7 separate regions of the Homo sapiens genome follow, and regions 1, 3, 4, 5, 6 and 7 are each linked to region 2. Evidence: promoter capture Hi-C in 16 types of primary human blood cells and fetal thymus (Javierre and others, 2016). All regions are on one chromosome and are shown on one strand. The core of a region is centred on a gene start or on the middle of the fragment in contact, and the rest is flanking DNA. Distances in the headings are between cores, read along the strand shown.

Evidence for each region. The method cuts DNA at HindIII sites, captures the fragments that hold promoters and counts their contacts. A CHiCAGO score of 5 or more calls a contact.
Region 1: a contact is called between a fragment that was not itself captured here and the fragment with the promoter of UCHL1 in region 2, in 7 of 17 cell types (megakaryocytes, M0 macrophages, M2 macrophages and 4 more). The highest score is 12.4, in megakaryocytes.
Region 3: a fragment that was not itself captured here is called in contact with the fragment with the promoter of UCHL1 in region 2 in 8 of 17 cell types (M2 macrophages, monocytes, megakaryocytes and 5 more); the score reaches 12.3 in M2 macrophages.
Region 4: a contact is called between a fragment that was not itself captured here and the fragment with the promoter of UCHL1 in region 2, in 3 of 17 cell types (monocytes, M0 macrophages and megakaryocytes). The highest score is 6.4, in monocytes.
Region 5: a contact is called between the fragment with the promoter of LIMCH1-AS1 here and the fragment with the promoter of UCHL1 in region 2, in 7 of 17 cell types (monocytes, megakaryocytes, endothelial precursors and 4 more). The highest score is 10.5, in monocytes.
Region 6: a contact is called between a fragment that was not itself captured here and the fragment with the promoter of UCHL1 in region 2, in 1 of 17 cell types (monocytes). The highest score is 5.7, in monocytes.
Region 7: a contact is called between a fragment that was not itself captured here and the fragment with the promoter of UCHL1 in region 2, in 2 of 17 cell types (M0 macrophages and endothelial precursors). The highest score is 7.8, in M0 macrophages.

What each region holds. Positions count from the first base shown.
Region 1 is chr4:41,643,581-41,646,698 of GRCh38, forward strand. LIMCH1 (LIM and calponin homology domains 1) reads left to right here. Exons shown (of 32, transcript NM_001330672.2): 15 at 920-1,046; 16 at 2,543-2,700; 17 at 2,905-3,118. Among named protein-coding and RNA genes, the nearest start is that of LIMCH1-AS1, 48 kb to the right of the region's middle. The HindIII fragment of the contact is 578 bases long and covers 1,267-1,844 here.
Region 2 is chr4:41,255,580-41,258,594 of GRCh38, forward strand. UCHL1 (ubiquitin C-terminal hydrolase L1) reads left to right here and starts at 1,349. Exons shown (of 9, transcript NM_004181.5): 1 at 1,349-1,430; 2 at 1,536-1,547; 3 at 2,030-2,158. The coding sequence starts at 1,398. It overlaps UCHL1-DT (UCHL1 divergent transcript), which reads right to left and starts at 1,148. Exons shown (of 3, transcript NR_102709.1): 1 at 980-1,148. RefSeq lists a silencer at 1,465-2,224 and an enhancer at 2,059-2,559. The HindIII fragment of the contact is 2,127 bases long and covers 602-2,728 here.
Region 3 is chr4:41,661,243-41,664,550 of GRCh38, forward strand. LIMCH1 (LIM and calponin homology domains 1) reads left to right here. Exons shown (of 32, transcript NM_001330672.2): 19 at 178-268; 20 at 1,579-1,742. Among named protein-coding and RNA genes, the nearest start is that of LIMCH1-AS1, 30 kb to the right of the region's middle. The HindIII fragment of the contact is 9,051 bases long and covers 1-3,308 here.
Region 4 is chr4:41,627,127-41,630,079 of GRCh38, forward strand. It overlaps LIMCH1 (LIM and calponin homology domains 1), which reads left to right. Exons shown (of 32, transcript NM_001330672.2): 9 at 2,366-2,608. Among named protein-coding and RNA genes, the nearest start is that of LIMCH1-AS1, 64 kb to the right of the region's middle. The HindIII fragment of the contact is 4,189 bases long and covers 1-2,953 here.
Region 5 is chr4:41,691,186-41,694,541 of GRCh38, forward strand. LIMCH1-AS1 (LIMCH1 antisense RNA 1) reads right to left here and starts at 1,612. Exons shown (of 3, transcript XR_002959789.2): 1 at 1,357-1,612. It overlaps LIMCH1 (LIM and calponin homology domains 1), which reads left to right. Exons shown (of 32, transcript NM_001330672.2): 31 at 1,097-1,199. The HindIII fragment of the contact is 18,346 bases long and covers 1-3,356 here.
Region 6 is chr4:41,708,495-41,711,730 of GRCh38, forward strand. No RefSeq gene overlaps it. Among named protein-coding and RNA genes, the nearest start is that of LIMCH1-AS1, 17 kb to the left of the region's middle. The HindIII fragment of the contact is 513 bases long and covers 1,318-1,830 here.
Region 7 is chr4:40,922,622-40,925,917 of GRCh38, forward strand. The region is part of intron 10 of APBB2 (amyloid beta precursor protein binding family B member 2); the gene reads right to left. Among named protein-coding and RNA genes, the nearest start is that of NSUN7, 170 kb to the left of the region's middle. RefSeq lists a silencer at 1,211-1,505. The HindIII fragment of the contact is 861 bases long and covers 1,476-2,336 here.

The DNA.
Region 1 (3,118 bases), core at 306-2,805, 390 kb after region 2:
TGGTCTTGCACAACATTTAATAAGCTCCTATAAAACATATAAATTATATGTATGCACAGTCTAAGAGTTTTTTAAAGACTGATTTCCCTTGCATTTTTCTTTTAAAAGAGATATTCAGAGTTATCCTGACAAAAATTAAATGACTGTGTGCATATTAGAATACAAAATATATACCTAATTTATGTGTTTTACTCCTTACTCTTGTTATAAAATGCCTTGTTTTCTTGATTCCAAGATGCCATCAACTGCACTATCAATTACAGCAGTTTTACAAGAAATAAAAAGAAATGATTACAATGAACATATACATCAGCCATCCATAGTTGTCAGATGCATCTAAAATTCAATAAAATAAAATAAGAAAAAGTGAGTGTCTTAAACTTAAGGCCAAATGATATTTTTTTGGAAATGGAGAAATTGCCTCCATTCACATAGGAAGCCTTTAAGCCAGCTTTCTACACAAAGAAGCATTTAACGTAATACAGTTTTACTTCATGGAACACCGCCCTCTTTCCCCACAAATTCTACCCAGGTTATACCTTTTAATTATCTTAATTTTATTTTTTAAATGCATTTCCAAGTGAGAGGAGCCTGGGGCTTCAAATACCATTTTTCTAGCTCTTCTTTAAACCTATTTTGGCACCTACATATAAAATGATATTGACCCGATTCAGTGACATCACTGAAGACAAAGACGGTCACATTTTGGCGTTTGCGGCAAAAGGAGGCGGTGGGGTGCCAGCACGCCCACCGCCCGCCCAGGGCCAGAACACACCGCCAGTCACGCGCTGTGCGCAGCCCGGGAAGGGGGCAGTTTTCCAAGCCCGGTAGCGCCCCCACGCGGCAGGACGCCCAGGCGCGCGGAGACGCGACGGGCGCTGATCGCGGTCCCTCTTGTGTTCGCTCTCTCCACACTCAGGAGCACCAGCATGTTTGACATGCGGTGTGAGGAGGAGGCCGCGGTGCAGCCGCACAGCAGGGCCCGCCAGGAGCAGCTGCAGCTGATAAATAACCAGCTGAGGGAAGAGGACGACAAATGGCAAGATGTGAGTTGTGGCCAAGGCGCGCGGGCAGCGGGGAGGCTTCTGGCAGCAGAAAATCCAGCCGGGTGGGTAGACGTGGACTTGAAAGCCATGCGGGGAAAGGGAGCCCCTAGAGGGTTTCAAAAGGTGACACGGTAAATGTGGGACTCAAAGGAAGGTGAGTAGCAGCGTGAAGGTATGGAGTGATGGCCCAGACATGTAATCAGCAAACACCCTGGCCAGAAGCTTGGTCACAAAAGAGGGGAGGGGAGGCAGGAAACTGGGATGGGTTGTAGAATTGAGGCTGCACTATCTTCTGAGGTTATATATTTCAAATTGATCATGATGATGATGGTAGTAACGATAACAATGACCAACATCAAATGTGTACCAGTACCAGGCATTGTTCTAAGTACTTTGCATGCATTCATTTAATCCTCTTAGTAACTCAATGAACTAGCAACTCTTATTGTCCTCGATTCCACAGACGAATCCCAGCACAGCTGTCACTTGCTGAACGTCACATAGCTAGCGAGTGGGGGAGCCAGGATTAGAACCAGGGAAGGAAGGCTAAAGAGGCTGATGAGGGCTTTGAGATTGTGTGCTGAGAGCCAAAGCGGGGAGAGAGGAGGGAGAGTGGATTATTTCATTTAATTCTCACAAAGCACTCTGGAGGTAGCTATTGCAAACTTGACTCCACCTTTAGTTTAAAAAGTTAACTTCTCCAAAGTTCATAAAATATAGTAACAATTATGTCTAAAGTATCTTGAGCACTTACTATGTGCCTGGCACCTTACGTCTATTTTCACATTTAACCCTGCAAGCTTGTAAGAATAGGTGCTATTATCATCATTTTAGAGAGGAGGAAATGGAGGCACAGGGAGACTAAGAAACATGCCTGAGATTCCAAAGCATGGAAAAGACAGAGCTGGGATTATTTCCCACAGCTGCAACCCCAACCATCTGCCTCCAGAATCCTCACTCTTCATCATTATGCTATAACTACCTGTAGGATTGTGGTGAGGTTGTTGTAAGGATCAGATGAATTAATACATATAGAATCACCAGATCTAAAGACTCCAAAACAGTTTTTTTTCTGCCTTGACTGCCTTCCATGTGGAAACTGTAAATGAATCCCTACTATTCTATTGTCAGCAAATCTGTTCACAATGCAGAGGTTATAAATAGGAAGGAATGAAGTTTCTTACAGTTACCTTGTGAGGCAATTCTCTGAAATTTGGCAACTGACATGAAATGTGATTGCATATTTCACACTGCCATATTTAAATAAATGTGCAGCCCTGCTATGGATACTGTAGATAATATCTGGATGTTTCTGCCTTTGAGGCATTCCAGTTCCAACCAGACTTACATTGGATTGTGTGGGAATGCACACGATGTTATAGTGCCTGGGCCCATAGTCAGTTCTCTAAAGAGTAGAAATGACTAAACTCTGAAGAATAGAAATGGAATTATGCACAAGTCTGAAGAAGAATATTATATCTTTCTTTCCCTGCCAGGACCTGGCTCGTTGGAAGAGTCGTAGAAGAAGTGTTTCTCAGGACTTAATCAAGAAAGAGGAAGAAAGGAAAAAAATGGAGAAGTTACTGGCTGGAGAAGATGGGACAAGTGAACGAAGGAAAAGCATCAAAACCTACAGAGAAATTGTTCAAGAAAAGTGAGTTCTTTCTGTTGTCGTTTTTAATGTACAATATTATCTAGGTGTTTTTTTTTTCTAAAAATTATTGGCTGTCACAAAGGTTCTGATAGTAACATTTTATATTCCCTGTACTATCTCTTCAGTGCTACCTTCGTTTCTACCAAGGTCTTCTTTGCAATTTTCATTAGTTGACTTTGTTATTGCTTCTCCCATGTCCTTTAGAGAGCGGAGAGAGAGAGAGCTGCATGAAGCATATAAGAACGCTCGGTCCCAGGAGGAGGCAGAGGGGATCCTTCAACAGTACATTGAGAGGTTCACCATCAGTGAGGCTGTTCTCGAACGCTTGGAGATGCCAAAAATTCTGGAAAGAAGCCATTCAACAGAGCCAAATTTATCCTCCTTCCTGAATGACCCCAATCCCATGAAATACCTGCGG
Region 2 (3,015 bases), core at 99-2,598:
AGAAGTAGAATGTTGTGGAATCTTAGATAAAGAATGGGCTCTTGGAGCCCAGTTTAGCAGGGTTTACTTCTCAGTTTTACTTTTCAATTGTGACCGTAAGCAAATTAACTTCTCTAGGCCTGGGATTCTGATCTGTAAAATTGCACTAATATGAGTCTCTTCACGGCTCCTCTAAGGATTAAATGAGAGACACATGCAAAGGATCCCCAAAAACAATAACTCAAAAAATGTTGATTCCCTCCCTTCCCTCTGTCATCTGTTAACCTCAACTTCCTAAATAGAAGGTCTATTCTTTTACCATCATCATTATTCTCTTCGGTGCCTATTTTTAAAAAATACTCAACCTTCTTGCTTCCTTCGCTACCTAAGTATTTCTGCAAGCCCACTTTGTTCTGCAGCTTAGCTTTCCTGGCACAATTCTTATAGATTTTGGTCCCTTTTAAAATTCATTCTTCAGCAAATGCTTTCTCTCTCCATCTTTTGACTAGAGATCATTAGAGATCACCTGAGATCATTAGAGAACAGTGGTTTCCTTGGTTGCCATTCCCTTTCTTCTTCATTGGGAGTATTCTGCGGTGAACTCAGACATTTTATTTTTCAAAGCTTCCCATTCTTTTAAAAATGCTTTTCCTTTTACAGCCTCTCGCTCAAAATCATACCCATCTTTTCCCTGGATCTGTTTTCTCAAGTCTCCAATCGCCTGCCTTCTTTGTGTCTTGTATTACCCTCACATCCCCCAGCTTTCTACTGCTCTCCCAGGACCAACCATTTCTTCCGCGGGAGTCACATTACATCAGCATTCCTAATGCAGTATCTGTTATCTACCAGATTCTGTTTTATTCTAGGTAGTCACTTAAAAACGAACCTCGGTACTGGTCTGACTTAACATGGAGGAGGAATTGTCTAAGGTTAAACGCAAACTGCTGAGAGATTTGGGGCGGGGGGCACACATTTACATTCATTCGTATTAAATATATACCTGTTGAATTTGTGCTTTTTCTCAAATGCTTCAGAGACTCGAGCTTTAGAGTAATTGGGATGGTGAAAGGATGGGTTTCCAGAAACTTCGCCCAAAATTAAAGACTCCATCAAAAGGACTGCTCCATACACTCAAGGAACACCCACCAACAAATCCCGTCTCCACAACCACCAGATTATCTCACCGGCGAGTGAGACTGCAAGGTTTGGGGGCCCGGCCGTACCACTCCGCGCTGCGCACGGGGGGTTCGTACCCATCTGGCCGCGACCGTCCGTTTCCCCCTCGCTTGGTTCTGCCCCTGCTCCCCCTGCACAGGCCTCACAGTGCGTCTGGCCGGCGCTTTATAGCTGCAGCCTGGGCGGCTCCGCTAGCTGTTTTTCGTCTTCCCTAGGCTATTTCTGCCGGGCGCTCCGCGAAGATGCAGCTCAAGCCGATGGAGATCAACCCCGAGGTGAGCGCCAGGTGCACCGCTACCCGGAGAGCGCGAGGCCGAGGGAGGGGGAGCCGAGTCGCTGATCGGTTCGGTTTTGCCTTTTTCTTTGCATTTGCCTTTCAGATGCTGAACAAAGTGAGTGGCGTCTCGCGCCGTCTCTGGCCCCCTCCCCCGCGAGCGCCGAGGCGGGGGCGCCCACCGGTTCCGGCTGCTGGCAGGGACCAAGCCGCCCGCTGCGAGCACCGGAGACGGCCGGGCTGGGGCGTGGGCTGGGCGCCTTTCCTGGGCCCCTGCATTTAGCGGGTGACTCTACGAAACCGGTCACGGGGAGACGGAGGGGGCTGCGCCCCGTGGCGAGCGAGCGCCAGGCGGAGCTCCCGAGGGCGTGGCGCGGGCAGCACAGACTCGGCTGCACGGGCTTCGCGGGCGCCACGTGTGGGCCGCGCTTTGTGCTGTGTCATTGCGCCGGCCCGGGTGGGGGTGGCAGGGCGGGACTGGGGCTCCTCCCAGGCTCGGGTGCGGGCGCGGAGGGCGCGCGCCTCCTGGCCCCGCCCCCTGGCAGGTGCCCGCGACCCGCGTGTCCCCGTGCGCCTGGCCGCCTTGTCTCCTCTCCGCAGGTGCTGTCCCGGCTGGGGGTCGCCGGCCAGTGGCGCTTCGTGGACGTGCTGGGGCTGGAAGAGGAGTCTCTGGGCTCGGTGCCAGCGCCTGCCTGCGCGCTGCTGCTGCTGTTTCCCCTCACGGCCCAGGTAGGGCGTGGGGCCCAGGATGCGCCGGCCGCCGGCAGTGCACGCCGCTCCCCAGCTTGAGTCCTCGGGGGCTCCCCGCCCCGCCCCCTCCCCTGTAGGTGATGCGGGGCGCGCCTACAAGGAAGGGAGGAGCCTGCATTTTCGTGGTACCTACTCCCTGGGCTCCTGTTCCAGCGGTGCCTGTCGCCTTCTTGCCCATCCGTCCACAATTGCCTTAAATTTGGAAGAGAGGCAGTATCTCAGTTCCATCTATCCCGTTATCCAGGGAAATCATTCATCCTACTCATGAGTTCCCTCGAACTTGGGCTTTTTCGAGCCTCCGGTTCCGGGGAATGGCTGCTGGTTTCCCTTTAAGGGCTATAACCTGTCAACTCATTGTTTGCTTCTCAGACTCCCACCTAGCTGTAGAATGGAGGGGGAAGGGCTGACCTAAATCGCAGGGAAACAATTAGGTTCGCTAATTCTCCGCCTCCATTACTTGGGTTTCTGATGGTCTTAAGGGGTTCTTCTCTCTTCTCCACTCCCACCACTTGCACACTTGGTTTTTAGCCTCTTGAATGTATTTCTTAAAGCTTAATCATTTTGTGTATGGTTTCTGTGTGGGAACCTCCTTCCTCTTCACTTATCCTTGTTCATCTCTGACCTTGTAGCTAACTGAAATAGGGGGTTATTAGCTCAGTTTTGAAAGCACCTTTGCATTTCCCTTGAAATGATTTTCCTCCTACAAGTGTGCATGGATAGATGTATCTGAAAGACAGCGTCAGATTTTTTTTTTTAAAGGATAGCTAGGATATTTGCAGTCTTGTGATGTATGGAATCCCAGTCATTAGCGCATGGCATTGTCTTATCTCCTATTG
Region 3 (3,308 bases), core at 240-2,739, 410 kb after region 2:
CATAGAATGTCTCCTTCCAACCAATCCAGGCTCTCGCCATGAAGCTGCCTGGGAAGTAGAAGAGGGAATTCATATGGCCAAACCACTTTGTTGACCTAAAAATTACTGCTTAAAAAATAATTTTTAGAACTTTTAAAGGAATCATTTATTCAAGGGGGAAAAAAATCTCTTTTTCAGGCAACCACTGAGAAAACGGAACCGAATAGTCAAGAGGACAAGAATGATGGTGGAAAATCAAGAAAAGGGAATATAGAACTTGCCTCATCAGGTTTGTTTCATAAGAGACTAGTTTTAAGGCAAATCATGGTAACTGTTTAAGATGTAATGGAAATAGTCAAGAATTTTTCCTACTGAGCCACAGGAAAGTAGTAATTAGACTCCAGGAGTGGTGCGGTTGTGCTGCCACCTAGAGGCTTCCTGGGGAAGTTCTGCCCGTATGGTTAATGTTGCTGTGAAAATAGGAGCCCATGCTCTTTCTTAAAGCTACCCAGTTTTATTTTGTTTTTTAAAATATTTATCCCTATAATCATAAAGAATATTGTGTTCTTCCATATAAATCATGCTAAAAATTGAGGGTAGGATTTTGACACACAGTAACAGCAATAGATAAGCGAGAGGTCAAAAACATAAAAATAGACGCTGAAATGGTAAAGCTCACATATAGTTAAAAATGAATAAAATAGTGCCATGAATCTGGACAGTGAGTATAATATACTGTATTCGTTGTTTTAGGAAGAAGACCCTGTTCCCGAAAGTCTTGTTCCTCAATATTTTTTTGCAGCCTTATCAATATGTTTAACACTTTTCTTCTTTTGATAAACAGTAAAACCTCTCACCCTCTTTCAATACCAAATTATTATTTTTTATAAGGCCTTTCTCCAGTGTTTACCACTTGAGAAACATAATTTGTCAATTACCAAATTATTTTTAGGTAACATTTTTAAATAAATTAAATATCACTTAAAATAATAGCATTTACTTTTTCAAACTAGATTGTGCCTTCACATTTTGATATGCCCCCTTAGGTAGTGACTTTTCCACCCCTTCTAAAGTGAACCTAATTCTTCTTTATGTATCAGAGAACACTTTATTTTCATTGCATTATATACATATACCCCACAATCCGTAACACATTCCAATTAAGAAATTCTGATGTTAAAATGGAGCATTGAAATACAAAAAAAGGAAGCATCAGGTTGCTGCTCATTCACTGGGATAGAAACTACCTGTAGATGTTCTCTTATCTAGCCCAGCTGTCATAATTATATATTTCGTGTCAGCATTCTGTTCCATGTGGTGTTATTCAGATGTAAACCGTGACCCTTACTAAAAACTTAAGTTCTTCATAGTGTGGTTATAGGACGTGATTTGTGTTGCTTGTTGTTCAATACCATGAAAGAGCTTTGGGAATTCCAGCATCTTAGGCTCTTTTATATCTCTGAGCACACTGTCATTCAGCTTATATTGCCAGGACGGGATATGGACTGAATGTACTTCATGGCATTGCAGAATAAATGGTCCTATAGATATTTGATTTTCTTTTCCTTCTGTACGTTTCTGGATGTAACTCCATTGCAGAACCACAGCATTTTACAACAACTGTGACTCGATGCAGCCCGACCGTGGCCTTTGTGGAATTTCCCTCCAGCCCCCAGCTGAAGAATGATGTGTCGGAAGAAAAAGACCAGAAGAAACCAGAAAATGAAATGAGTGGAAAGGTGGAGTTGGTGCTGTCACAAAAGGTGAAGTGCAGAGTGGAGGAAAGCGGTTAAACCCACAAGTTAACATGGCCCCATATTACAGCTAGCTGCTGCTGTGGCAGTTGTGAATAATGAAGATTTATTTCTCTCCTCATCTTTTTTCCTATCTTTAATCTGTAGTTTTTCTTTTTCGTGTGTGTGTGTGTGTGTGTGTGTGTGTGTGTGTGTGTGATGGAGTTTTGCTCTTGTTGCCCAGGCTGGAGTGCAGCGGTGTGATCTCTGCTCACCACAACTTCTACCTCCTGGGTTCAAGTGATTCTCCTGCCTTAGGCTCCCGAGTAGCTGGGATTATAGGCGTCTGCCACCACGCCCAGCTAATTTTTATATTTTTAGTAGAGACGGGGTTTCACCATGTTGGCCAGGCTATTCTTTGTGGAAAAGTGTAATATAAGTTCTAAAGCCTTGCAGTTAGGTTTTAGTTTGCTGTGTGTGTTTGCTTATTTGCTTTTTAACCTGTCAGCTTACTGGCTAGTCTCTCTCCAATAATCATCTATTTGTTAGCCATGGTAATTCTGATGCCACTGGATTTGGATAACAAGAAACCTAGAAAATTATTATTCTGATATAATAGGTTTTAAAGTCTTGTTTTTATTAAAGTTTCTTCCTTGTTTAGAGTCTCATCTCATTCACATTAGTTTGATTTGTTTTCAGGTACAGAGTCTAAAAATATTCATCAGTTACACCAGTTGTTCGCAACCTTGATTACTCTTGGGAATTTAAAAAATAACAAGCTAGCTGGGTGTGGTGGCTCACAACTGTAATCCCAGCACTTTGGGAGGCCAGGGCAGGAGGATCACTTGAGCCCAGGAGTTCAAGACTAGCCTGGGCAACCCAGAAAGTCTTCATCTCTAAAAAAAAAAAAAAAAAAAAATAGTAATAATAATAATAGTTAGCCAGGCATGGTGGTGAGTGCCTGTAATTCCAGATACTGTGGAGGCTTAGGTGGGAGGATCACTTAGCCCAAGAGGTCAAGGCTGCTGTGAGCTGTGATTATACCACTGCACTCTAACCTGGGCGACACAGCTAGACCCCATCTCAAAAACAAACAAACAAAACAATCCAAGCCCATTCCAGACCAAATAAATTAGAATCTGTGGAGGCAGAGCCCAGGCATCTGTATTTTTTAAAGCTCCCAGGTAATTTTAATGGGCCACCACTACGGACTTGCACAACTGGAAGACTATCCGTAGTGGTGTACCACCTTTCAGAATGGACCCTCAATTTGGGTATGACCTTAAAGTGAAAAATCTGCCACTTGTAGTTCCAGTTTATTCATCATTTACTCAACCAGTATTGGCTGTGCACCTACTATGTCATGCCTGGCCCTGTGCTAGGTACTGGATAGTCAACAGTGAACATGATGCACTCCCTGGCCTTAGGAGCTGAGAATTCTGTATCCTTGGTAGAGCCTCTAAAATGCCTGTTGCCTTGATGCGTTTTCAATATTTCAGACCCTAGCTATTCTTCATTTTTATAGATAATTAATGGTCTGCAGGTCTGGAAAGGGGAACTAAACTGGGAGTCAAACGTTGGGAGGCAGGCAGAATT
Region 4 (2,953 bases), core at 105-2,604, 370 kb after region 2:
TTTCCAGCCTCTCAATTATATGTACTTTGTAATGGGGGTTTATTTTGAAGCGGAACTTTAGATATTCAATCTCCCTTAAATGCAGATGGCAGACAGTAGAGTGTCCATGTCCAAAATAGGGCTGAATTTGCCAAAGAAACATTGAATTCCAGTGTGTAGATGTGCTGAATCAGGGCTCATCACCACATATGGGTGCTGGTGTCATCAGTTGGCATTATTAGCAAAAATAGACATGTACTATTGCCTATCAGAGAACAGCCACCTCTCACAGCTGCTCTAGTCCATTCAAAGGAAGCAGAAAAACGCTAAAAGCACTTCTCTCTTATTAGCTACATTTAGATGTTGGAAGAAAAAAAAATGAGACTTGTTCTTTCTTCTGTCACACCAGCAACATCACCTAGACAAATGATAATGGATATTTCCCATCAAAAACACTTCTCAAACTTATACTTCTATATGTTCTGTCATAGAAATTGTTTTCAAGCCAGTTTCCTTTTGCCAACATTTTCCCCGTCCTCTTAATACATGTTGGAGTGAATTGGGGACAGGAAAATTATAGTAAGATGGAATTTGACCAGTGATTTTTGTCCTGAGAGGGAGATATGATTTCATTTAGGGAACCTACTTGCTGAATTTCATCCTGCAGAGTTAATCATTCTTGTATTTTTCCTTATATCAAAATCAGCTAGAGTTAGCATCTACATTATTGAATTGTCATCTTTTTGCCCATCACTTTAGAGGTTTTTAAGCCTGTTGAACTTAGTATATAATTATCTCAGCTGTGCTTTAGACAATTAAAATGGTTCTTTAGGCAGAGTTGTTGAGCTCAGGGGAGTAGTTGGTCTTTTTGATTTTTCTTAGGAAGTACCAGATACAAAAACCCATGAGGGATTCCTGGATATAGAACAGGGATTCGATAAGAGAAAATCTGGCATCATTTCTTTACAGGACACATTATAGCTTCAGGAGGCCCTTGGTCTTTGCCATTGCTGTTGGCAGGCCTTGTAACAAACCATTCTTGGAGGGCCTTGTGGGAGGGATCAGTTGTGCAAGTGAAACAAAGACTTTTGGATAACTGACTAACATCAAGGCATATTGATGGCAATCAGCAATTTGAGTCAGGAAAAGGACTAGCCTTTGTATCTCCCTTGTTTCCTTTCTCCTCCATGTAATTTTAATTCCTGATATTTCCAGCTATATTTGTCTGTTGTCACCTGACTCTGTGTTTGCGGACGCAGTTCTGGGTCTGAAGCAGCCCTTGACCTCTCTAGACAGCATCAAAGAACTTATTAAAAAAAAAAAAAAAAAGAAGGGTCCCTAGTGCCTCTTTGCCATGCCCTTCCTTGATCTCCTTCCTCAAACTAAGAAAATTCTATAGCCTTTCTATTTTTATGGGCTGTGCAAGCATGCCAAATCATCAAGGTAACAAAAGACTACCTCTTGATTTTCCAGCTTGAATGATATATTTTGTGGGAAGATTAATAGGCTCTATTTATATATTTTTTGAGATTTTTCTATTTCAAGAAGCATATTTAGTTAGAAATAGACTTTTAATGGAATATTTATATATATAAATGCCACAGCTTTGGTTTAAATCGCAGTTTTGTCAACATTAGCCAGCTAAGGTTCACTTCATAGGAGAACAATGGAAAATATCAGTTTTAGCATCAATAAAGGTGAACGGTTATTAACACAAGAAACAAGTGGGTATTGACCCTGTCAATCCAGGTAAAGAGGAATACCCTCTGCTTTTCAAGTTTGCATTAGCCAAACCTGACTAATGCCATGAAGCAGACGTTGAGTTTAAACATTGAAACTTTCTGTTCAGAATTGACTTAGATGTACTTTCTGGCAGCTGTGGGTTTAGGTTTGAGATGTTTAATATGTGAACAATGTTCCAGCTATCTCCAAACTAATCCTAGAATTTGGATCATGCAGAGCTCATTATGAACATTTTACTAATGCAGTAAAAAACATTCCAAGAGGGCTAAGGGATTCATCAGAAAACCCGAATTCATTACAGTAACTTGAATAGTGTGGGAATTGGGCATCATTACCATCCAACCAAAATCTCATTACCATTAGTAATCTTTCAGCAGGCACGGCTTCTTTTCCTAAACTGTAGTTGAGACTGTCATCTGGAAGGGGAAAAAAACCTCTGTCTCATTCAGAGTTGTAATAAGGGTGGTATAGATGAAAGTCATCACAGCTCCCGTTGATTCCATTTTTGAGAAAGAGAAAAGTGTTTCCATCATTTTGTTCTGTCCTCAGCCTGTGAGTTTCCATGCTTGACATTCTCTTTGTCTGCTCCCCTTCCTTGAACTTGATTTTTCCATTGGTGTGGGGGCCCGGATCAAATGGACAGAAACCAGGGCCACACAGAAGAGGTGAAGTTGATAGTGACCTGTAACATGAGGGCTCAGGAAAGTGAACCTGTGGAAGGAGGACTCAGGAAGGTGCCAGATCTTCACAAGGATGACCTGGCCCAGCAGAGAATTCAGGGCAGCCTTGCCCCTCACCGCGAGCCCCCGAGCTTCATTACGCTCTCCAACATAACAGAAGCTGACTTGGAGACGTGGGAGAGACTCAAAGTGTCAGAAAAGGCGAGGTGTGTCATGTTTCCCCCCCAGTTTCCCCCTGGCAGTCATGGTATTTCATTTTGAAGGCATCAAATGCTTATCTTTGTGTCTTTTTTTTTTTTGTCAGGGTCTTGCTCTGTTGCCCAGGCTGGAATATAGTGGCTTGATCACAGTTCACTGTACCCTCGACTCCTGGGCTCAAGCAGTCCTCTCCCTCAGCCTCTTGAATAGCTGGGACTACAGGCCCATGCCACTATGCCTGGTTAATCTTTTGATTTTTTCTAGAGACAAGGTCTCACTATGCTGCCCATGCTGGTCTTGAACTCCTGGGCTCAAGGGATCCTCCCACCTCAGCTTCCCAAAGTCTTGGGATT
Region 5 (3,356 bases), core at 362-2,861, 440 kb after region 2:
CCACTCTTGCAATGTAGAGGCAGCTTATGACATAATTTGGATTAAGCCTCACTCTGTCCCAGGTCACCTTAGAGCATGAATTAGGGGCTAGATCCTGGTCCCCCTGCAAGAGGCTGGCACCCACACCAACTTCCACTGCCTTTCTACCCTTCTGGTACAAACATCCAAGTATATCCTACAGTCTCTTTCTGCACTCAGCCTGTGTTGGTGGAAATTCCCAGTGGATTTGTTGCTCTGAATATCACTGCTTTTAATGTGGAAATATAAAATGGAACAGCAGGCTGGGCACGGTGGCTCATGCCTGTAATCCCAGCACTTTGGGAGGCCAAGGTGGGCAGATAACCTGAGGTCAGAAGTTCGAGACCAGCCTGGCCAACATGGTGAAACTCCATCTTTACTAAAAATACAAAAAAAAAAAAAAAAAAAAAATAGCCAGGCGTGGTGGCACACGCCTGTAATCCCATCTACTCAGGAGGCTGAGGCAGGAGAATTGCTTGAGCCCAGGAAGTGGAGGTTGCAGTGAGCTGAGATCATGCCATTGCACTCCAGCCTGGCCTACAGAGCGAGACACTGTCTTAAAAAATAAATAAAATAAACAAATGGAACAGGTACTTCCTAGAAATTTTGATCTGGTAGAACTTAGCAACGATGCTGGCAAGCCTTTAAAGATTATTGATGGACACATTTCAATTGATAACTCATTGGCCATGTGTTTATTTAAAGCCACTAGGGTTTAATGTGTTTAAAATGGTTCTTCCATTTTGATTGAGAAACGGTGTATGATAGAGGTTAAGACGCTAGGCTTTGGAGTCAACCTGCTACCACTTATCAGCTCCACAACCTAGGAACAAGCCAACAAACCTCACTGAACCAGTGTCCTTCTCTGTAAAATGCAAGGAATTAAGCTAAAATTGCTAACTGTATATTTGCTTTTGCTGTAAGTTGACACTGGTGCAGCATCTTACACATAATAGATGCTCCACAAATGTGGTGATTGTAGAAGGGATTATTGTGCTATTCACATAAACAGTAACTAAGCATTAGAAAGAAACAATTCCTTATGCATCTTATGATGTCTGTTCTTTTTACCCTATAGTGTGGAATTTGTAAAGGCCAGCTTGGAGATGCAGTGAGTGGGACGGATGTTAGGATTCGAAATGGTCTCCTGAACTGTAATGATTGCTACATGCGATCCAGAAGTAAGTACTGGGGAGAATGCCTCATGATGACCGAGTGTAATCGTATGTCTTCCATAGGACCCAATTTAGGAATTCAAATATTTTTCCCCAGCCGTTGACACTCTAATCTGAGAGAAAGGTTTCTTAACATCTAGGTTAAAAAAGAAAAGATATTTACCACTCGTTTCTTCCTGGAAGTTATTGCTACAATGTGGACCAATTCTTTTTATCCTGAAGTGCATCAGCACACCAGCAGGTCAAAACATTGCCTGAGCTCACTACAGAGATTTTGGTGTGATAGAAAGGAGATATAAGGTCTGTCAAACACTGTCACTTGTTCAGGCATGTCTTTAGACGACTGGCACCATTTGGGGATGGTTAAATGTGGAGAGCGGCTCTCCACTGTTTCTCAGATCGAGCACCAACTCATCAATGTCTCCACGCCCTACATTCAGGAGTTTCATTACGTCATATGTGTTCCCAACTGAATGGAAAGTTCCTTGAGAGACAACAATGAGGGTTCCACTTCTCTGTGGATTCTTCCCCACCTCCCACCTCTACAATATCTTAGTAACAATATGCGCTTAACAAATTATTTGCTGCCTTAGTAAGTGAGAAGCCTGCTTGCTTTCCCGTCTTGCATCCGGGCCTCCTACTGTGGAAGGTGCATGTTAGTTTGCGGGGCAGCAGGGGGTGCTGTTGCCTAGCCGCTGTTTAGAAAATCTGAAAATGGCCAGTGGCTTGCCTCGGAATGTTTCCTCATTCTCCATCATGAGTACAGTCCTTCTGGTGGGTCACCTAGACAGCAGAAGACCTTTTAGTGCAGATTCATCAGTCAGAAACTCTTTTAAAAAATTGGAGTGAAGATAGGGAGTGTGAAATTCAAGAATGACTATTTCTCAAAGTGAAGTCACGTTTTTACTGCCTTTTTACATGGATCTCAAATCTCTGCAAGACTGAAAACTTTGAGAATAAAAATTGAAGGTAATTTGTTTTATAGCTATAGATTTAGTAAATTCAGTTAAATATGCCTATTAATAAAATGGGAAATAAAAATTTAATCAAACCCAGGTAGTTTAGATTTATAATAAATATTTGACTTGAGATCAAAACAGTTCCAACTTAGAGCCGCTGCTATCAAACTGGACTATTTAGATCATGCATGATATTAGTTTTTATACTATGTATTTTATATATTAAATTATATAAATAGTATACCATATATCATAAATATATACACACAAATTAACATATATAGTACATGTATAATAGGTAATAATTATATACATTTTATTTAAACTGGACTTTTGCTTTTATATGCTAACAAGGAAAACAACTCTTTTCTCCCAGATTTCAATGCGAATTTTCCTATCGTCTTCTATAAATTATTCTTTTTCTCTACCTCAGTGAACCACAGTGAATGTAATTTATGGAACCAGAAGAGGGCACTGTTAGGTTGAAGGACTGCTCAGAAAGATTTGAAAAGTGCTGTAGATCTGAGTTTGTTTAATAATTTAAAGTGCTTGAAGGATGCCAACAGAACAACCTGAACCCCCCTCTGGGTGACAGTGACCTCTTTTCATCTAGATTTTTTTAAATTGAGAGGTTGGGTGATTCTTTGTCATTTCTTTTGGAAATTAGCTTTTTAATTCAAGACCAGGAATTTTTCTCTTAAATATACAAATATAAAGGGCATTAACTGCTTTTAATTTCAAAACCATGGAGTTCCTGTAATCAGCTGAAAAATAAGAAAGTGATTTGGAGGTAGGCCACAAAAATGATTTTTTCTTTATTTTATATGTGAAATGCAGTGTTTTACCAGGATTTACCATAGAAAACAAGGCCCATTGTTTTCTCTGCTTCTATAGACATTCAATGAATAAATAAAAGTTACAGATGCTATAATGTTAGAAAAATTGAATTGTTCAGAAAGACACCACATTAAAAGGGCAGATCTCCATTGTAATCACCTTCCAATAATTTCTTGGGGTAGGGGCAGAATATATGTTTGTACATGTGTATGCACACACTTGCACACATGTACACACAGAGATACATATAAGTATGATGTATCTACCTGGATTTGTGTTGGTTTTTATTTCACATAGGTGATGATCATATAGTCATGGTGTTCTGTACTTGGTTTTTGTTGCTGTCATTTTGAACTTAATGATATAT
Region 6 (3,236 bases), core at 324-2,823, 450 kb after region 2:
TTGTTTCCCACAGTTCTTGCTCAGTAGCTGCCCCAGGCTTCTTCTTCAGTCACTTTTGCCTGTTTCGTCATTCCTTCCATATGCAATTCCCCCTCTTTTCAGTCCAGCGAAGCCCCAAACATGGAAACAACCCACCACTGTTTTATTCTTCAGAGACCAGCTAACAGGGGCCTCTCATGGTTTAATAAGTTTAAATATGGCTTGAGGATAGCATAGCCAGATTACAAGGCAAGAAAGGAAAACATCAAATTGGAATTAATGTATCATTGCTCTTAAAATCCACTGGCCATGTGTGTTCACAGGGAGTCATGTCCATCCTTCCTCCTTAGCTCCTGGCCTCTGGCCCGCTGCCACGTTGAGAGGCACACTTTTCCCAACTATAGTTTCCTTTTATTCTCTCTCTCCTCCCCTCGTTCCTCCACCCCTACCCCTAGGAGAGCACCCTTGTATTTAAACATGCTAAAGGAATCCAAATAATGCCAGCAAATATAACTATGATTTTTACAGCCAGCCCACAGCAAAGACAGCCTTTACCTTACTAAACACCTCAATTAACATCTCTGTCTAAAGAAGGAGCACAGACTCTGGAGTTGGGATGTCCAGGTTCACATCCCAGCTCCACCACTTACCATTTGTGACTTCAGGCAAGTTGTTTATCTTCTCTGTGTCTTGGTTTCCTCATCTGCAAAATGGGGATAATAGTAAAACATACCATATAGTGTTATTGTGAGGATTAAACAGGATCATGCATTTTAAATAGGACATATTTTAGTGTATATGGTAAACAGCCGTTTCTATTAGGATGACCATGCATTAGGACTAGTAACAATATAGTAAAAGTTGAGGTTGTGGAATTACATTACCAATATTCAGGGCTACAGTATGAAAAAAAACCTCTTGTTTAACTTGTATCAATATTACTGGATATGCTTATCAGAGTAACTCTTCTGAAAAGAGGGAATCTGCCCCTGAAATAAATTCTAGCCTATAGCATTAGGGCCACAAAGAATTTACAAATATTCTCAGAACCTCTGCAAAATAAATATGTACCAATCTGAAAAGAAAATATTGAATTAGATATGCCAAGATACTGACAGCAGTTATTTCTGATTAGTGTAATTATAGATTTTTAAAAATTTTTATCTGAACACTTCTGAGTGTTTTCTCCACACTGACCATCTACATGGCTTTTATAATATGGAAAAATAAGAACGTTACAAAAGAGGGAAGGAAAGCCTTCTTCTACATCCATACCAGATAAGACAGTTTCATAGAATTTGTTGAATTAACAAAACTCTGCAATGAAATGGTAGCCCAAGCTTGAATAAAGAGAACATTTATTTGAGTATTTAGTCCTGGGAGAGCCTGGCTATTGTACGGCCATGTTGCTGCTCTGTGAGTGGACTGTGAGCTTTTCAGCTGCTGCCTTTCAATATATATAATTAGAGTTCTGTTCCCATGGGGGAGAGACAGGTCTTAACATGAACTTCTAGTTGATACCAGACCCTCATCTCCATTTGCAGTTTACGTGTGTAGCATTTGTCCTCATCTTAAGAGTGAGTCATAAAAGTGCTTCAGTAAAATCTGACGTCAGTTGTCTAAAACCACAGTGTTACCACTCCCAAGTTTGTTATGGCCTCAATGTATTTACATAGCAGAAGGGACTTTAAGATCCAGTTAGAGGTTAATGGCAAATGTCCTCTGCCCTCAGAAATACAACAATGAAGATGAATCAGAGGCTTTTGATTTTGAATTAGACCTAACATTCTTGGAAAAATTTGCTTTTGGGTATTTATTCCATCCTATTACTCCTTGAAAAGAAAAGGGCAAAGCTTTTCCTTTTTTTTTTAGTTTTTTTTTTTTTGGTCACAGAATAGAATCCTGGGATACCTGATAACAAAGGCTGATGAACGGCAGGCAGATCATAAACTCACGCAAACATGGTAGTTGGACAGGGATGAACATTTTCCAAAGTGTGTTCCTCAGGGGCGTTGTATGAAATGCTCTTCAAGAAACGGATTCCATGTTTACACCTGAGTAAAAAGCACTGCATGTCCTTTTTCTTGGAGATATAGAAAGCATAGCAAAGGCCTACACAATTCTGCAGGAGCCTGTTTAAATTTGTTAAACTAACATCTTTGTCTAACTATATTTCATTAAGAAGCTCTATTCCAGACTCTTCTCAACATCTTCTAGCACTTAGGTTTCACAGTACACACTCTGAGAAACATTGACTGGACAATTAATACCTTTGGGAAATCACACAAATACCTTACCAACATGCAGACATGTTTTATTTTGTTTTGTTTTGGTTTTTGTTTAATTGTTAGACCTTTTTAAAATTCTTGATGGCCAGTCACAAGAATGGTAACAAAATCAGTTGGAGCTGGGCACAGTGGCTCACACCTGTAATTCTAGCACTTTGGGAGGCCAAGGTGGGCGGATTGGCTGAGCTCAGGAGTTCAAGACCAGCCTAGGCAACATGGCAAGACCCCATCTCTACTAAAGTATAAAAAAATTAGCCAGGCATGGTGGCACACACCTGTAGCCCCAGCTATTCAGGAGGCTGAAGCAGGAGAATCGCGTGAACCCGGAAGGCAGAGGTTGCAGTGAGCCGAAATCACACTCTAGCCTGGGCAACAGAGCACGACTCTGTCTCCAAAGATAAAAATTTAAGAATAATAATAAAATCAGTTGGGACTTGCATCTGGAACTATGACAGCAGGAAGTGGAGGATCAGGTGAGTTAAGGGCCAGGGAGCTATGGCTGAGAGTAAACATGGCTGAAACTCACTAGACCTCTTTATTCAAGATCTAATTCTCCTAAGAAATTTCCAGTGGAAAGTAGTGCTTTCATCAGGAACACTGTCAAGAATATGGTGCAAGCACTTAGGTTTCAGTGATGGAATAATAATACCCCCAAATAAGACTTGTATTGCAGTCAAGAGACAGAATATTGAAGAAAAGTAGTTTCCATATTTAACTTTCTTTCTCTCACCTTCCCTCAGCACTCAGGAGGGAAAGTGTCAAACCTCATATGCAAAAATCTCAGGCACTGCACCATGGGCAAATATTTCCATGGGGCTGGTGGGCCTCAGCTCATTTTATAAAACACATATCCACCTTAATCTGAATTTGAGAGAACGGGCAACTACCAGTGGGTTAGTACTGAAAAAGTGCCATCAGACAGTCTACCCTAATAGACGAAGTAAACAATAGAATACATTTCAGAAAGGT
Region 7 (3,296 bases), core at 656-3,155, 330 kb before region 2:
ATTTTTTGAGATAGGATCTGGTTCTGTTGGCCAGGCTGGAGTGCAGTGGCGCAATCTCGGCTCTGTGCAACCTCTGCCTCCCAGGCTCAAGTCGTCTTCCCACGTCAGCCTCCTGAGTAGCTGGGACTCCAGGTGTATTCTACCACATCCAGCTAAATTTTGTATTTTTTTTTTTTTTTATAGAAGGGGGCTCACTATGTTGGCCAGGCTGGTCTTGAACTCCTGAGCTCAAAGGATCCACCCCGCTCGGCCTCCCAAAGTGCTGGGATTACAGGCATGAGCCACTGCACCCAGCCAGCATCTGAATTAATCTAATTGTTCTGTAGGAAAAACCATCAGTTCTCCATCAATTTTTTTCTTTTTTTTTTTTTGAGACGGAGTCCCGCTCTTTAGCCCAGGCCGGATTGCAGTGGCACAATCTTGGCTCACTGCAAGCTCCGCCCTCCCAGGTTCACGCCATTCTCCTGCCTCAGCCTCCCGAGTAGCTGGGACTACAGGCGCCCGCCACCGCGCCCGGCTAATTTTTTGTATTTTTAGTAGAGACGGGGTTTCACCGTGTTAGCCAAGATGGTCTCGATCTCCTGACCTTGTGATCCGCCCGCCTCGGCCTCCCAAAGTGCTGGGATTACAGGCGTGAGCCACGGTCGTGCCCAGCCTCTCCATCAATTTTTAAACTGCAAATAAAGCAGAAATGTTTTCATCACTATCTAAATACCAGTATCTGGCATTAAGCTCTCAGGCAGCAAGCCTGAGAGAACAAGTTCTGAGACGTGCTGGCTCTTTTCCAGATGGCCTTGGAATGCCAGCTTCAGGACCCCCAGGTCTCGACCAGCTGGCCTTCCTGGAGCACCCAGACCTGCTGAATGGATGTCCCATGGCTACTCCTGCCCGAGGCTGTTCAGTTCTGTGATTATTCATGGCCCAAAATTCTGTGCCAAGAACCCACCAGGCCAGGTTCACACACCTGCCGCTCTGGTGCCATCAGGATGGCGGCTGCTGCCACCGCGGCTGGCTGGTGCCCATTTCCTCACCTGTTTCCTACCTCATTCCTTCAGGGGAAGAGGGAAGTCTGCCTTTCCTTCATTAGCTTTTCCAGGCATCTGCCCATCAGAGGGCGCAGCTGCCAAGAGTTAGACAACAATGCATCTTGTTTCAACAGCACCCTTCAAAACTCGGGGACTCACACACGGCTGCCAATTCCTCGACCGCTCATTCAGGCAAGTGTAGTGACCAGAAGTTAATAAGGGAAATAACACCGTGCTTCTGCCAGGAACACGGCATTATGCTTGGCCGAGTTGGCAAATAAAGGGAGGAAAACAGTTTTAGAAACACAAAAGCTGTCCTCCGGGATAGGAGGCAAAATGAGCAGCCAAGGCCAATGGCAGTGAGTGTCTGCACCACTCAACGGAAAAGCAGGATGGACAAGGGTCAGGGAGCCTGGCTTCGGGTCCTGCTCTGCCACGACCAGCTGTGCAAGCTTGGGCAGGTTACTTTCTCTGCGCCTTCTGCTTTTCCTAAGGCTGGAATGAGATGATCCTTATTTTCCCCTTGTGAATGCCAACCTAAAAGCCATGCATGAGAGGCTGAATCTCATTCAGCCAGGACTTGATATATCCATCACTGGCTCTGGACCTTGGTTTCGTGATTCAACCATGTTGCTATTTTCTGCCCTGTACTGAAGGCACTAATTTTGAATGACTGAAATGTGGGAATGACATGTTTGGCAGATTGTACCTCCCAAAGATGGCTGCATTAAAACCTCCCGTCCTATGCGCTCCTTGTAACGTGAACTTGCCACGTCTCATCAAGAAGTGGAGTCTGACAACTCTGAACAACAGAATACGGTGGAAGTGACATGCTGCCATTGCCAAGAAGAGCCTTTCCTCACCTGGTGGCTTCACCTTCCTGCTTCTTAGAAGCTGGACACCAGGTAAAAAGTACAACTGCCTACCCAGAGACCACACCATGAGAAGACCAAGCCACATGGAGAGGCCCTGGAGGACGTGAGGAGGAGCACTGAGCCAGGAAGCAGGTTGGAGAAGAAGCCATCTTTGAAGAGGATCCTCCAGCTCCGGCCGCCCCCATGTGGATCAGGCAGGAACTGCACCGCCAAACCCTCCCCAGACTCTGGAACCCACTAAATCCTGAGCAAAATAAATAATTGTTTTAAGCTACGAAGTTTTGGTGCAGTTTGCTACATAGCACGCAGGAACAGATAACAGAAACAATGTTATCCACAGTATTGGGCAAATACAGATGGACCTCATCTTAACAGATCTGTTCCTAAAAGCATTTGCTGAAAATGAACACAAATTTACATATCAAATCATTTTCAAAGCTTCCACACTTACATTTTTTGAAAAGTATGGTGGCGGGGGGAGAGGGAATCACTAACTCCAGTGACAATTCAAATATACTTATTAGCTAAGGTATCGTCTCCTTCTGGGAAACCACCCGAGCCACCCCTTTCAACCAGCCATGGAATATGCCCCCGGAACAACCCCCATTCGTGACTCAGTAGCTCAGCTCCTGGTACAGTGCATTGAATTTGCTTGTTTCTTCTCCATTACTTGAAGGCAGGGGCCATATCCATTCCTTCTGGTAGTAGGAACAGTATAATGGCGAATGCATAAAGAATGCTTATTATGTGCTAAGGACTGTTCCAAGACCTTTACATGTATATTTATAGTGTTTATAGTATGTCAATTCAATGTTTATAACAGCCATGTGAGGTTGGCTCCATCATTACCCTCATTTTGCAGATGAAGAAACTGAGGCACAGAGGGGGTAGGTAACTTGCCCAAGGTCATCCAGCTGGTAAGCAGCAGAGCCTGGCTTTAAACCCGGGCAGTCTGGGTCCAGAGTCCATGCTCTTAACCACACCATACATTAAGTATGTATGCTCCTTTCGCACTTAGCATTCAATAAACGTCTCTGACTCAATGAATGAATCAACAGTGCAAATCAAACCCAAACTTCCACACAGATCAGGATTTCTGAAAGAAACCTGTACCACGTGAATAAAAATCAATTATAAGAACTACATGCAGCTGTAACATCCCATATAAATGCTAAGTAATGACAATGAATTTGCTACACAGACCAGAAATAAATCTGAATGAGAAAAGGTACTTCCCTACTACTTCCTGCTTATCTATTAGTGCTAATCTAGTCAGTAGCTGCTAATATAATTACTTCATGAAAATCTATGCTAATAGGAACCAAGGGAGGGCACAGATAAATAAAGCTCACAGATGAATATTGGAATCTCATGTCCATTCGCCATTCAGTTCAGA